Linked DNA regions of Homo sapiens: region 1 is linked to region 2. Evidence: promoter capture Hi-C in human tissues and cell types (Jung and others, 2019). All regions are on one chromosome and are shown on one strand. Each heading gives the region's core, a stretch centred on a gene start or on the middle of the fragment in contact. The rest is flanking DNA. Distances are from core to core; before and after follow the strand shown.

What was found. The method cuts DNA at HindIII sites, captures the fragments that hold promoters and counts their contacts. A contact is called where the count stands out against the background at its distance.
Region 1: a contact is called between a fragment that was not itself captured here and the fragment with the promoter of BRAT1 in region 2, in 1 of the 25 tissues and cell types used here (dorsolateral prefrontal cortex).

Annotation. Positions count from the first base shown.
Region 1 is chr7:2,866,588-2,871,766 of GRCh38, forward strand. No RefSeq gene overlaps it. Among named protein-coding and RNA genes, the nearest start is that of GNA12, 25 kb to the left of the region's middle. RefSeq lists silencers at 2,859-3,063, 4,011-4,230 and an enhancer at 5,037-5,179. The HindIII fragment of the contact is 5,597 bases long and covers 1-4,175 here.
Region 2 is chr7:2,552,445-2,557,218 of GRCh38, forward strand. It overlaps BRAT1 (BRCA1 associated ATM activator 1), which reads right to left and starts at 3,080. Exons shown (of 14, transcript NM_152743.4): 1 at 3,043-3,080; 2 at 1,861-2,003. The coding sequence starts at 1,987. RefSeq lists a silencer at 2,835-3,074 and an enhancer at 2,987-3,664. The HindIII fragment of the contact is 14,393 bases long and covers 163-4,774 here.

The DNA.
Region 1 (5,179 bases), core at 127-2,626, 310 kb after region 2:
CTGGGGAGGCTCCAGTTCCCCCTCCAACACAGATGTCTCCTGGAGGGACATTGTCATGTGCCATCCCCCACCCTCCATGCTGGTTATCCCAGAGGTGCCTGGTTCTCTGTGGAGGGCATTTTCTCTGCATCTTGCTAGCAGTCCCTGACTAATTTCCCGGCCTCACATCCTCCCGTGCTCCCATGGGGGCCATGGGAGACTTGGGGACCGTCTTTCTTGGACCCCTGCCAGGTGCCTTCTGTGTTAGTGAGATGTGCCCTTCCCTGGGTGGAAGGTTGACTTCCCATTCCCTGGGTTGGCTTCCCATTTCCCTGGGTGCCATCTGTGCCAGTTTGTTCTTGCATTGCTATAAAGGAGTACCTGAGACTGGGTAATTGATAAAGAAAAGGGGTTTAATTGGCTCACAGTTCTGCAGGCTGTATAGGAAGTGCGGTGCTGCCTTCTGCTTCTAGTGAGGTCTCCGGAAGCTTCCAATCATGGCGGAAGGTACAGGCGGCAGGAGTGAGAGAGAGAAGGGGGAGGCCCCAGACTCTTAAACGACCAGAGCTCTTAAACCCAGATTCTTAAACAACCAGATCTCATGTAAACTGAGCAAAAACTCACTCATCACCAAGCGAATGTGGCTAAGCCACTCGTGAGGGGTCTGCCTGCCGTGATCCAACACCTCCCACCAGGCCCTGCCTCCAACACTGGGGATCACATTCCAACATGAGATTTGGAGGGACACACATCCAAACCATATCACCACCTATCTCCAGGTATCCAGCACATGTGGGCTTCCTCCTCCCCTGCAGCCTGGGGGTGGGGTACTACATTTTCCTTTATAACATAGTGGTCACAATTTTGCGTTCTTTTCTTCCTGTTAAATGCCTCTCTCTCTCTCTCTCTCTCTCTCTATATATATATATATATAGATAGATAGATAGATAGATATTTTTTTTTTTAGATGGAGTCTCGCTCTGTTGCCCAGGTTGGAGTACAGTGGTGTGATCTCAGCTCACTGCAATCTTCGCCTCCCGGGTTCAAGCAATTCTCCTGCCTCAGCCTCCCAAGTAGCTGGGATTACAGGCAAGCACCACCATGCACAGCTAATTTTTGTATTTTTAGTAGAGACGGGGTTTCACCATGTTGGCCAGGCTGGTTTCAAACTCCTGAGCTTAGGTGATCCACTTGCGTCAGACTCCCAAAGTGCTGGGATTAAAGGTGTGAGCCACTGTGCCCAGCCTATAAATATTCATATATATACACACACACACACACACACACACACATATATATGTATATACATGTAAAATTTTTTTTTTGAGACAGAATCTTGCTCTGTTGCCCAGGCTGGAGTGCAGTGGTGCAATCCCAGCTAACTGCTTTCTGTGTTCAAGCGATTCTCCCGCCTCAGCCTCCTGAATAGCTAGGATTACAGGCATGTGCCACCATACCATGCTAATTTTTGTATTTTTAGTAGAGGAGGGGTTTTGCCATGTGGGCCAGGCTGGTCTGGAACAGTTGACTTCAGGCGATCCACCTGCCTTGGCCTCCCACAGTGCTGAGATTACAGGTGTGAGCCACTGCGACCAGCCTAATTTTTGTATTTTCAGCAGAGACAGGGTTTCACCATATTGGCCAGGCTTGTCTCAAACTCCTAACCTCAAGTGATCTGCCCGCCTTGGCCTCCCAAAATGCTGGGATTACAGGTGTGAGCCACTGTGCTGGCCTATTTATATTTTTAATTAAAAAAATTTTTTTGAAACAGGATCTCACTCTGTCATCCAGGGTGGAGTACAGTGGCGCAGTCACAGCTCACTGCAGCCTCTACCTCCTGGGCTCAAGTGATCCACCCACCTCAGCCTCCCAAGTGGCTGGGACTACAGGTGTTCACCACCACACCTGGCTAATTTTATTTTGACTTTTGTAGAGATGGGGGTCTCACTTTGTTGCCCAGGTTGATCTTGAACTCCTGGGCTCAAGTGATCCTCCTGCCTTGGCTTCTCAAACTGTTGGGATTACAGGTGTGAGCCACTGTGCCCAGCTATTTATATTACTTTAAATGGACAAATAGCAATTGATATGTTTATCATGTACAACACAATGTTTTGAAATACGCATACCTTGTAGAATGGTTCAATCAAGCAAATTAACATATGCATTCCTCCCATGCTTATTATTTTTTGTAGTGAGAACACTTAAAATCTGTCTACATGGTGAAACCTCATCTCTATTAAAAATAAAATACTCGATTGCATTTTCAAAATACAAGATGTCTCGATTTAAATAAGGGTTAAATCTTGTTTTCTCCACCTTATTTCCTAGTTCGCTAGCAAATGCTGCATTTGTTAATTAATTTAGGGCAATTCTTTCTTTCTGTAATTGACAAATAATAATTACGTCTATTTAAGGGGCACCGTGTGATGCTTCGATCCATGTATACGTCGTAGAATGATTAAACGCAGCGAATTAACATATCATAACCCTTAAAGCAGAGGCTTCCAGTTTCCTCTAGGGGATTCCCCATGTTCCATTCCAGTTCTGGTGGGGCCTTTCCAAGCCATACACAAACACATACACACGCGGATGTACCCCATGGAGTCACATACGAACGCACGTACACCACAGCCACGCATAGTCACAGGAGCATTGCAGGCACGCACGTGCACACACCCACCCACACACCCACCCACACACCCACCCAGGGGCATGGTCCTGTAACCCGGACCTCTTCACATCTTTGGCAACAGTAACGTGGCCCAAGGGGTAGGCCTATGTATTAGTCTGTTTTCACCCTGCTATAAAGAACTGCCTGAGACTGGGTGATTTATAAAGGAAAAGAGGTTGAATTGACTCACAGTTCAGCATGGCTGGGAGGCCTCAAGAAACTTACAATCATGATGGAAGGTGAAGAGGAAGCAAGGACCTTCTTCATAAAGTGGCAGGAGGGTGAAGTGCTGAGTGAAGCGGGAAGAGCCCCTTGTAAAACCATCAGATCTCCTGAAAACTCAGCCACTCTCACGAGAACAGCTTGGGGGAAATCTATCCCCGTGACTCAATGACCTCCACTTGGTCTCTCCCATGACTCAGTGGAGATTATGGGGATTACAGTTCAAGATGAGATTTGGGGCCGGGTGCGGTGGTTCACACCTGTAATCCCAGCACTTTGGGAGGCCGAAGTGGGCAGATCACTTGAGGTCAGGAGTTCGAGACCAGCCTGGCCAACATGGCGAAACCTTGTCTCTACTAAAAATACAAAAATTAGCCAGAAGTGATGGTGCGTGCCTGTAGTCCCAGCTACGTGGGAGGCTGTGGCAGGAGAATCGCTTGAACCCGAGAGGCAGAGGCTGCAGTGAGCCGAGATCACACCAGCCTGGGTGACAGAGCCAGACTCAGTCTCAAAGGAAAAAAAAAAAAGATGAGATTTGGGTGAGGCGCAAAGCCTCACCATATCAGTCTCCACCCAGGAGAGTCCACCCTGCCTGGAGGAGAAAGAGGGCGCTGGGCTGTGGTGGCCCCGTGTGTCCCAGTGGAGGGGTCTGTCTGCCATGGGCAGGAGTGCGCCCCCCCTGCACAGAGGGCTACAGCTCAGAGGCGAGGCGGGGATCGGACCTAGTGAGAGCTGAGCGCCTGGTCTGGGCCCTGTTGGGCTTGGTGAGCCACTCTGTGGCTTTTAGTGATACCTGAGCCAGCAGACCTTACCTCTGTGCGCCAGGGGTGCTTTGTGGGGTCCGATGCTGTTCACACCCTGCGTCCTCCCGTCCTGTCCGGGTCCCCCTTTCCCACGTGCACAAGGAGTGGCTGACGGTCTCCCAGGACTCCCCCACCACCCCCTACACACTCCACTTCAACTCTGCAAAGGCAGCACCCTTCCCTGGAGTGTGAGACCCTCCCTGCCTGCCCCTCTCTGCCTGAGCAGGACAGGAAGCTATTGAGCCCCTGTGAAGCTCTAGGCCAGGTGCCTGGAGTCAGCGATGAGTAAGAGGAGGCAGGGCCTGCAGCCCTCGGAGGCCCAGGACTTTAGGGAACTCATTAGAGAGACTCATTTCGTTACCTGTGTCACTTTGGTCATCTGGGAGGCAGACGTCAAGACAGAAGAAATGAGCAAGAGATTGATGAAACGCAATGCCCAAGCAGGATACAGGGAGAGGATGCAGGGTGGGCGGGGACCAACTTCCAACCGTGACGCAGGGCTTGTGTTTGCCAGAGGAGAAGAGGAAGGAAGGAGGGTTAAGTGGGAGGAGCCCCAGGCTGCAGTGCAGCTGTGAGAAAGTCCTCTCCAGGCCCACGGGGAGCTCTAGCAAGGTCCCGGGTGGGGCAGGAGCTGCCAGGCCCCAGGTGCTACTGCATTCCTGTGGAGGGTGACTCTGGGAGGGAAAGCAGAGCCGTGCACCTCCAGGGCCACCCCGACGGTGACACAAAGGCTGATGTGACACATGCATCAAAGCACTGACCAAATGCCGGGGCCGGTGGCTCACGCCTGTAATTCCAACACTTTGGGAGGCTGAGGCGGGTGGATCACCTGAGGTCAGGAGTTTGAGACCAGCGTGGCCAACATGGTGAAACCCCATCTCTACTAAAAATACACAAATTAGCAGGGCGTGGTGGTGCCTGCCTGCAGCCCCAGCCACGGGGAAGGCTGAGGCAGGAGGATCGCTTGGACCTGGGAGGCGGAGGTTGCAGTGAGATGAGATCGCACCACTGCACTCCATCCTAGGCAATGGACCGACCAAGGGACTGGGGTCAGGGAGCACCGACCAAGGGACTGGGGTCAGGGAGGCTTCCTGGAGAGGGCTGACACCTGAGACATTTCCAGTGTAAAGGAGATGGGGGCTGAGTGTCAGAGGCCAGGGCTTATGCAGGGCCCCGAGGTGGATCATCTCTCTGGGACTGGATGAGGACAGCATCACAGGCGCAAGTTGAGGGCAGGACTCATGGCTTGCGGGCGCAGTGAACGTGACATGGGCCAGGCTTGCAGAGCCCGAGGGTTGTATTTGGGACTCTGGTCCTGTGTCCCAGCCCACTTTGATTCCAGTGGGCAGACCAGCTCAACCCAAACCCCTGCCACTGGCTGAACGCTCCCTGGGGCCCTGGGTCTACCACCTGCCTTGGGAATGCTGCCTGAGCTCTCTCTCTCTGGCATTCTGACCACTCCTGCCAGATACAGCTCGATCTGTGCCTTTGTTCTAGCACTGAT
Region 2 (4,774 bases), core at 1,830-4,329:
AGACCTAGATATTTAGCTCAAAGAGGGTAAAAGGCACTTTGGGAAGCAGAGGCAGGTGACTGCCTGAGCCCAGGAGATCGAAAACAGCTTGGGCAATACGGTGAGACCCCATCCTTAAAAAAAAAAATACAATATAATTTAAAAATAAAAAGAATAAAAGAACACGGTAAACCAAAAAAAGGAAGTAAAGAATAGCAGAAATTAACAACATGCAGTCTATCCCAATGCAATTATCAACCATGAGAATAAACATTTACATGCGAGAATATTTATGTAAAAGGAAAGCCATTATGACACTATTTTTTTTTTTTTGAGACGGAATCTCGCTCTGTCGCCCAGGCTGCAGTGCAGTGGCGTGATCTCGGCTCACTGCAAGCTCTGCCTCCTGTGTTCACGCCATTCTCCTGCCCAGCCTCCCAAGTAACTGGGACTACAGGCGCCCACCACCACGTCTGGCTATTTTTTTTTTTTTTGTATTTTTAGTAGAGACGGGGTTTCACCATGTTAGCCAGGAGGGTCTTGATCTCCAGACCTCGTGATCTGCCTGCCTCGGTCTCCCAAAGTGCTGGGATTACAGGCTTGAGCCACCGCGCTCGACTGACACTATTTTTTTGAGACAGAGTCCATTCTGTCGCTGGAGTGCAGTGGCACGATCTGGGCTCACTGCAACCTCCGCTTCCTGGGTTCAAGCGATCCTCCCCCTCAGTCTCCCAAGTAGCTGGGATTACGGCGCATGCCACCATGCCCGGCTAATTTTTTTATTTTTAGTAGAGACGAGGTCTCACCATGTTGGCCAGGCTGGTTTCGAACTCCTGACTTCAAGTGACCTACCCGCCTTGGCCTCCCAAAGTGATGGGATTACAAGCATGAGTCACCGCGCCTGACCTATGACACTACTTAAAATGATGAAAAATGAGAAATATAAACATCTGACAGTGGAGTGATTCAATTAATTATGGTCTATTCCTACAGCAAATAACATGTAGTCAATAACATTAACATATTATGTGGAGAAAACACTCACTATGATAGCAAGAGAGAAAGCAAGACACCAAAATTGTGTTTACAGTATGACCTCATTTTTTTTTCCCCAGAAAAATACAGCTTTATGTGTTATGAAAAGGCTGGGAGTAAATTAAAACGTTGATGGTTTAATTTTCCTCTTTACTCTTTTGTTCATGTTTTAAAGAACATGTATTACTTTGTTTTTTTTTTTTGAGACAGGGTCTCACTCTATCACCCAGGTCAGGGTGCAGTGGCACAATCATAGCTCACTGCAACCTCTACCTCCCGGACTCAAAGGATCCTCCCATCTCAGCCTCCAGAGTAGCTGGGACTACAGGTGCGCCACCAGGCACAGCTAATTTTTGTTTTTTTTTTTTTTAGAGATGACGTCTCGCTATGTTGGACCAGGCTGGTCTTGAACTCCTGGACTTAAGCAATCCGCTCGCCTCAGCCTCCCAAAGTGCTGGGATTACAGGTATGAGCCACTGCATCCGGCCCCTACTTTCATAATCAGAAAGAAAACAAATCTGATGTCTTAAACACACTAAATACAACGAGAACAACAATAAAACAAGTTTGTTCACGCCTTCTGTAGAACTGAACCTTGGGGTGCCCTGATCGTGGCTCAACTGGCTGAATTTCAGGCTCTAACTCTCCAGATCATTCTCTCGGGCTTCATCTTAACTTGCCCTCAGTCTGCCACAGATAATCCTTAGGAAGTGAAGGAAAGACATCTGATTGGCAGTTTCTGCCCTTCCTCCAGGACAGGGGAGTCCCCATCTGGCCCCTGCTCCCTGTCCCAGCCTCTGCGTCTGGTCTCTGGATAGGCAGTAAACAGCAGCACCACCTCCTTACCTCCTTCAGTGACCGTTTTAAACCAGTCCAGGAGCTTCTCCAAACAGGTGTCATCTGCCACCGGCTGCCTGGGATCTACCAGAACAGCACAGAGAGCCGGGAGCAGCTGGGCGCATTCTGGGTCCATGGTGAGGCCGCAGGCCCTGCAAAGGCAATGTGAGAGCCAAACCTCAATGCCCACTCCAGACCCAGCTCGCTCTAGTCACAGCAGCCCACCATGCCTGCTCAGGCCTGGGAAGGGGCCCCAGAACTTTCATCTCAGACCAGGAGAACCATGATCCCCAGACCAGAGGTCTGTACTGCAGGGATGGATGCAAAGCTTTGGTCTAGGTGGGGCCCTGAGCGCTGGTGGCGGGGCTGAAAGGGGCAGATGAGGGTCTAGCTGAAACCACAAGGCCTCCGGAACTCAAAGTCTGTCACCCTTGGTCTTTGGTGCAGTCGGGGCAACAGCGTGGTGCTGGCCCAGGCTGCAGGTGGGCCAGAGTCAGGGGCATCTTTGAGTTCCGGGGTCAGCCATGTGTGCAAGGGGATGTCTACCCATGCCCCAGGGCCAGCCTGGGCTGGAAAGTTTCTGTCCCTCCCAGCGTCAAGTGGTGGCTGCATTTGACGTCCTGAAGCCAGCAGGGGGGTGCGGAGGGGAAGGGGCGCCTGTCCGTGTGTCTGTCCCTCTCAGGGTCAGTGGTGGCTGCATTTGCTGTTCTGCAGCCAGTAGGAGGGTGAGGAGGGGAAGGGGCACCTGTCCGTGTGTCTGTCCCTCCCAGGATTAGTGGTGGCTGCATCTGAAGCCGGCGGGGGGGAGAGGGGGGCGGCGGGGTGCGGAAAGGAAGGGGCGCCTGTCTCTCCCAGGACCAGGTGTGCATCCGTGCGTCCAGCCTCGGGGGTGGGCGGGGTGGTCAGCGGCTCTGTCTAACCGGGGCACCGTCTGCCAATGCCCGGGAAGGCTGCGTCCCGGGAAGAGGAACCCTCCCCACACTTTGAAGTCAGTTTTGGCCGCGAGCGCCAGGCCCGAGAGTCCAGAAGGGGCGCCAGAGCAGGCGGCCACAGTCGGGCTGGGAAGCGAGCCCAGGTCGCGCACGCCCCGGGCTGGGCTGCTCCCTGGCCCGCCCGCCCCCCTCGGCCGGGTCTTGGCCTCCCCGCGCCCCACTACCACGACCTCGACCCCCGAAGGCCCACGCGCCTCACCGCTCGGTTGCGTCCTCCGCCGCAACCACCCCTCGCCCAAGGCTCCGCCTCCGGACAGTGCCACCTGCCAGGCCCGGAGGAGGCGGAGGACGGAGACGGCTGGCGTGGGGAACTGAGACTGCACCCCTGGAGGCCGCTCTGGAAGCCTCGAGGGCCCAGACTTGAAGGAAGGAGTTCAAGCTGAGAGGGGCTGGGGACAGGCAGGCGCCAAGCCGGTCGCTCCGACAGATCACCCCCGCCAGGCGCCTAGTGGTTCATGCCGAGCATCCGGTGGGTGGGCGGGGCGTCTCGAGGGCGGGGATCTCTGAGGAAGGCGCGGGGTTGTGTCCGGAGGGGCGGGGCTTCGCCTGCAGGGCGCCCAGTGTCTGCACCGGCGGGAGCGAGAAAACTATGTGCCGGAGAGAAGCGTCCTGATCCGTGCACCAAAGCCCTTGGTCATTTAGCTTCAGGTTCTCAAATTAAGTCCTCCGCGGCCGCGCTGTGGCTCATGCCTGTAATTCCAGCCCTTTAGGAGGCGCAGTTGGGAGGATTGCTTGAAGCCAGGAGTTGAGACCAGCCTAGGCAACAAAGCGAGACCCCATCTCTTAAAATTTAAAAAAAAAAAAAAAAAAAAAAAAAAAGGCCAGGCGTGGTGGCTCACGCCTGTAATCCCAGCGCTCTGGGAGGCCCAGGCGGGCGGATCACGAGGTCAGGAGTTCGAGACCAGCCTGGCCAACATGGCGAAATCCCGTCTCGTCTCTAATTTTTGTATCTCTAAGATATCAAAATTAGCCGGACGTGGAGGCGCGCGCCTGTAATCCCAAGTACTCGGGAGACTGAGGCAGGAGAATCTCTTGAACCTGGGAGGCGGAAGTTGCAGTGAGCCAAGATGGTGCCACTGCACTCCAGCCTGGGCTACAGGGCGAGACTCCGTCTCAAAAAAAAAAAAAGAAAATCAGCCAGACCTGGTAGCATGCGCCTGTGGTCCCAGCTACTCCAGAGGCTGAGGCGGGAGGATCGCTTGAGCCCAGAAGTTCAAGGCTGCAGTGAGCTATGATCCTGCCCCGGCACTCCAGCCTGGGCAACAGAGCAAGACCCTGTGTTTTAAGAAAGCAAACAGGCAGAAAAACTAGGTCCAAAAAATTGAGTTCAAAACACTAACTGTGTGTTCGAGAGTCTCAAAGCCAGTGGATAGACAAGGCTCATGTTCCCAAAGCATTGTTTTATAGCAAGATTGTTGGGAGCCAACACCAGATTTAGGAAACAAAGCAGAATTCCTATGGATATTAAAATTTAAAAATTTAAAAGCACTGACTTTGCTGGGTCACCTTTATTTTATTTATTTATTTATGGAGACGGAGTGTCACTCTTTTTGCCCAGACTGGAGTGCAATGGCTCAATCTTGACTCACTGCAACCTCCACCTCCTGGGTTCAAGCGATTCTCCTGCCTCAGCCTCCCGAGTAGCTGGGATTACAGGTGCGGGCCACCACGCCCAGCTAATTTTGTATTTTTAGTAGAGACGGGGTTTCACCATGTTGGCCAGGCTGGTCTCGAACTCCTGACTTTAGGTGATCCGCCCACCTAGGCCTCCCAAAGTGCTGGGACTACCAGCGTGAGCCAACGCGCCCAGCCGTGCTGGGTAACCTTGGAAAAGCAACTTCCCTGACGCTTGCATGCCCCCTGCACACACACACACACGTACATCCTTAGAACTACATGTGTGAAAAAGTTTGAAATGCACAGTTATCTTC